2 separate regions of the Homo sapiens genome follow, and region 1 is linked to region 2. Evidence: promoter capture Hi-C in 16 types of primary human blood cells and fetal thymus (Javierre and others, 2016). All regions are on one chromosome and are shown on one strand. The core of a region is centred on a gene start or on the middle of the fragment in contact, and the rest is flanking DNA. Distances in the headings are between cores, read along the strand shown. Region 1 holds the start of HMGN5 (high mobility group nucleosome binding domain 5). Region 2 holds the start of ATP7A (ATPase copper transporting alpha).

The links. The method cuts DNA at HindIII sites, captures the fragments that hold promoters and counts their contacts. A CHiCAGO score of 5 or more calls a contact.
Region 1: the fragment with the promoter of HMGN5 here is called in contact with the fragment with the promoter of ATP7A in region 2 in 1 of 17 cell types (fetal thymus); the score reaches 6.7 in fetal thymus.

What each region holds. Positions count from the first base shown.
Region 1 is chrX:81,200,634-81,203,333 of GRCh38, reverse strand. It overlaps HMGN5 (high mobility group nucleosome binding domain 5), which reads left to right and starts at 1,421. Exons shown (of 7, transcript NM_030763.3): 1 at 1,421-1,597. SH3BGRL (SH3 domain binding glutamate rich protein like) reads right to left here and starts at 1,232. Exons shown (of 4, transcript NM_003022.3): 1 at 1,089-1,232. The coding sequence starts at 1,133. RefSeq lists enhancers at 1,037-1,206, 1,327-1,576. The HindIII fragment of the contact is 6,013 bases long and covers 1-2,700 here.
Region 2 is chrX:77,909,389-77,912,088 of GRCh38, reverse strand. It overlaps ATP7A (ATPase copper transporting alpha), which reads right to left and starts at 1,396. Exons shown (of 23, transcript NM_000052.7): 1 at 1,254-1,396. The HindIII fragment of the contact is 7,135 bases long and covers 1-2,700 here.

The DNA.
Region 1 (2,700 bases), core at 172-2,671, 3.3 Mb before region 2:
ATTCCACATCCTCTCAGGTGTAAATAAACAAGCCAAAAAATAAAAACACACAACAACCTGGATTAGCTGCTGCTCTAAAGCTCAAGAAGAGGGAAGGGGTTCCTATACCCTACAATCTGAACCCACACATCTGTTCTTGCCACTGTCTGCCTTTCTCTTGAGTTGTAAAAAGCAGAAGCACTTTCATTTATCATGGATATACACTCATCTTGCACCCCAGTTTATCATATTCTCCCGACAGCTGCTGAAAATTTGTTATTCTAAATTAAGAGTAAGTGAATCCATGAAAGAGAAAGTCCTATCATTTGAAGCAGCAGCAACTCAGGCTGCCACTACACAAGAAGCCACTGAGCTCCCTATCCAGTTCTCAATATACTTGAAGCAGTGAGAGAAATTTAAAAGTAAAATATTTTGAAAGAATAGAAACAGTCAAAATAAGGGACAATATGGGGGGAAAACTGAATCTCGTGTCATATTAAGTTAAAAAAAAATTTACGTCATTGTTACCAACTTCCCCTCCCAATTTGTCTAGTTCTAACAGGCCTTCAAGCTCAAGTTAACCACTTTCTTCTACACACTCTCAAAATAACTCTATTACCAGGGTCTCACTCACCCAGAATAATTACAATGCCTCGGTAGGCCTCCACTCAATCCCCACCAGTTACAGCATGTGTACCCCCATCCTTTACAGAAGTGCACTCCTCCTTGTCTCAGTACTTAGGGCGTATTCATCAAATGTCTCACTCTTGAAACTCACCAGTGTGCGATTTTACTTGACTTCACGTAACCCTAAAGACCGTATAGCACCATCTCCCATCTCCCAAAACTTGGTAGCTTTCGTTTTCCTTCAAAGCAGAAATGTGCCCCCCAACGTCACGAAGCAAACAAAGCTGAACTCTATGTGGAAAAAAAAAAAAATGAAATCGATGCAACAAAGGGAAAAAAGGGAAGAAGAAGGGTGGGATCGGGGATGCATGAGTCTTCCAAAGGAGAAGCTGCCAGAGGAACTTCTGCATTTTAATGGTTCTGGGGCAGCAGAGGACTGGTGTGTAGGAAAACAACAAAGGTGGACTCCCCACTCTCCTTACCGCTGTAGAGCCAGAGGAAGATGCAATATATACACGGATCACCATCCTGGGAACAGCGGCTGCGGTTGTTTGGGTCCTGAAAAGGGCTGTGGAGCAGCTGCAGCAATGGCTGGAATCCAGCTAGGGGCTGAAACAGCGGTTGGCAGAGAAGGGTGGGGGAAGGTGGAAGGAGAACTCGCCAGAGCCCCGCCTCCGCCTTTAGCAGCTTCCACCGAGCTCTCTAAGCGCTGCAGTTCCAGCCCAAAACCCCGGAAGGAACAGGCTGTTTGCATCAATTCTATTTTTTTTTAATAGGGAATCTCGAATAGCACCGCGAGATCTGTTGAAACATTGATTTTTGACGATTCCTTCCCTGAGAAGAGGGCGAGGAGAAGAAGAAAGAAAAAGGAGAACTGAATTGAATTAGATTAGCATGAAGGACCTTTTCACGCGGAGACTAAAAGTACTGCGCATAACTTCCTGCTCAGAAATATATGCAAATAAGAAGACAGATCCTGAAAGAGCAAGCTGTATGTTGAAAACCCATGTTCTCAAAGCCTTGCGCATTTTAAGATTCCTATTACGTAGTGATTTTTCTGATCTTAGCTCGTTGTAGGAATTAGGCACTAAAGTACTGAGCAATGCTGCAGAGTTTTGAAGGAAAGTTTCAGGTTTCCTTAAGCCCAGAAATGGCAGGATTGGTTTTCTTTTTGAATTTTGTGTTTTGTTAAATTAGGGAACCCTGCTTCCGTGGGAATTTGCAGGAGGCCTGATTGGCAAGTTTAAGAATGAAGGAATAAATTACAAAGAAAAGATTGAAAATATTGTGTAAAAAGATGGATGATTTTTGTTTTGTTTTGCTTTTTAACTGACTGAAGTAAGGGATTTGGGAGAACATATTGCAGATGTTGAAATGGTGAAGAGAGAGATCAGATGGTTATTTGTAGCTCTAAGGAAATGAGCAAACAGTTAATAATGTCCAGAGACAGACCATATACTTCAAAGTGTAGTTTTAGGTTCCCAGATTATGTTAAATGAACAGAAAAAAAGGAATTTGCAAGATGAATGAGAGTGGAGAGGAGTCAGTCGCTTGTCCTACTTCTTTTCCTTTGCTGTTTTTCCACTGTCTCCAGTCTAGTGGTTTACTGTCTTTGCCTAGGCTCAGTGCTTACAATAGCTTTGTTAACTGTTCCCTACCCACAGGTTTTCCCTTCTCCAATCTGTCTTAAATACTAATTCCAAATTAATCTCTTTACATGTTGTCCTTAAAACAACCTCAAGAGGTGGGTACTATTACATTAATTTTACAGATGAAGAAACTGAAACTCAGAAAAATAGTTTTCCTAAAATCATATGGTTAGTACATTCCAGAGTTAGGAACTCCAGAGGCCACCTTCTTATTTTTTTTTAATTATACTTTAAATTCTAGGGTACATGTGCACAACGTGCAGGTTTGTTACATAGGTATACATGTGCCATGTTGGTTTGCTGCACCCATCAACTCGTTGTTTACATTAGGTATTTCACCTAATGCTATCACTCCTCCAGCCCCCCACCCCCCGACTGGCCCCGGGGTGTGATGTTCCCTGTCCTGTGTCCATGTGTTCTCATTGTTCAACTCCCACATATGAGT
Region 2 (2,700 bases), core at 147-2,646:
AAATAACCATTGAAAAGGATGTGATAAGCAACCTAGTAATTCAGTCAGTGGGGCTGCTAGAAACCGTTGTCTTCATAGCTGAATTCAACTGACTCAATTCGGACTCAATTGTATGTAAACTGTTTATTTTTCTTTCTTCTTTTTTGGAGACAGTTTCGCTCTTGTAGCCCAGGCTGGAGTGCAGTGGCACGATCTCGGCTCACTGCAACATCCGCCTCCCAGGTTCAAGCGATCCTCTTGCCTCAGTCTCCCGACTAGCTGGGATTACAGGCGCCCGCCACCACGCCCAGCTAATTTTTGTATTTTTAGTAAAGACAGGGTTTCGCCATGATGGCCAGGCTGGTCTCGATCTCCTGACCTCAGGTGATCCACCCTCCTCGGCCTCCCAAAGTGTTGGTATTACAGGTGTGTCAGACACTGCGCCCAGCCTACTGTAAGTAAACTCTTTTGAGGCCAGGAACTCTGTCTTATTTCTTGTGCATCACCCCCTCCCCACCACCCCCCCGCACCCGGCAAAAAAAAAAAAAAATTAATAACCTCAGTATCATCTAATTCAATGTTCTGCACATATTCTCAATACAAAGCCATACTATTGTAGATAAAGAGTCTGTGATTAAAATAAAGATCAGATCCTGGACAAACGCTGAATTGTGAAACGATAAGTGTTTGTGCTTAAGATAATCTCAACGTCTACAACGAAGAAAAGTGTCAAAGATAAGATGCCACAGGGTCGGACAATGGACAGTAACTTTACTGGAAAGGGGGCACAATGAACAAAACTAAGTGGAAACAAGAGTTCTCTCAGTTTACCTTACGCTCCCAGAGCAAGACAAGAAGCCAAATATCTATTTTTCAATTATTATTTCATCAATTATGGTCATTTTAGTAACCTTAGCTTCCAAAGTATAAAGAGGTGTCACTAAGCAAAGACCCCAGTCCATGTGACTTTCAATGCCAAACACAAACTTTCTTGTACCCTCAATTAATTGGGTAACGTAGGCCATGGATGATCAGGACATTCTCTCCAAGAGGGTACAAGAAAGTGACACAGGTCAGGATTTAATTTCCCCTCCTCTATCCCCTGTTAGGGGAGGTAAAACATAAATGTAGTTAATACCTGAATTGTGAATAAGTGAAACTTTCGAGACTGCCCCAGACTAACATGACCTTCTCACCACACTCGTAGTACAAACTGACAGCACAGAAGACCCCCTCCAGGAGAAAGGACGACGGGAAGCCAATGTAGGACTTACCTGGTTTCTCTATCCTATGGTTAAACCTCTGGAGCTACGCAGACCGTGGCAGCGATAAATCCACGTACGCAGGCTCCAACAAAGCTCACACAATCGGAGAAGTCACAGTAGCTGCGGCTGCGGCGGCGGCAGCAACAACTCCTCCCTCTGCTTCTCTTTTCCCACCCCCCGCCGCGGCGGCCAGCCGCCTTTACCCCTCCCTCCCTCGACTACCCCCACTTCCGGGTGATGCCCCTGCCGGAAGCAGGGCCGCCACGGGAAAGAGAGCGACTGGTCACGTGAAAAGGAACGCGTGGTCTAGAGCCAGCTTCTCCTGCCCCCTGCTGCCCCCGGGCCGACACGCAGCCTCGAGTGGGTCTTTGTTAGGGTACGAGTCCACTATCCCACCCCGCCCCCACGACAAAAGCGAAACCAGAAAACCCATACTAAAACAGTGCCTTTGTCATCTTTAGTTTCCTAACCTCAGGCCAAGATGTAACATAAAAGATCCTTATAAGTCATCTTCCACATAGTTCATCTTTGCCTAGCATGAAATTCACGTGCATCTGTTAGACTGTGTTAACTGCCAAGATGTAACATAAAAGCTCCTTATAAGTCATCTTCCACATAGTTCATCTTCGCCCAGCATGAAATTCACGTGCATCAGTTAGACTGTGTTAACTGCCAAGATGTAACATAAAAGCTCCTTATAAGTCATCTTCCACATAGTTCATCTTCGCCCAGCATGAAATTCACGTGCATCTGTTAGACTGTGTTAACTTGCTTCCCGTAGACTGTGTAGCCTAATTCCAGATGTAAGTGCCAGAACTATGAATTTATCCTCTTCCCTCCATTGAAAAATTACATCAAGAGGAAAATGTTTATAAATTCATAATTTTTATATGTGTGTTGAGGGGGTAGGGACGTCACTTCACCACCTTCATAGCGCCATTCCAAGCTCTGAACCACTCCCCCATTTATTCATTCACTCGTCCATCATTTTACACACCTAGAAGATTCCGGTGATGCAAAAGTGTTACAGTCTCTGTTACCATGAGTTCATTTAGAAATGAGATGCATAAAATGTAAACAATGCAATAAATGGTACAGAAAACATTTGAAAAAAGGGTCATTTTATTCTTGCTTTCCAACTTAACATTTTGAAAAGCAGCAAAATTCTAGGATTTTTAAAACTATGAACATTAACAGTAAAAAGAGGGAGAGGCTCCATCTCACTTATTTCAAAGCAAGATGTGGCCTTTTCATATTTCCTTTCATGAAGTATCTGTCATAAGATGTAGAACAAAACTAATCACAGGACTATTTGTATTTTCATCTGGAACCATTTGAACCCAGTTCCCACAGAAGAGTATGAAGCCTAATAATGTTGCAGAAATCAAAATAGTACACAAAATACAAATATCAAGTAAATATTTGTAAAAGACTTAGAACAGCGTCCGGCACAAAG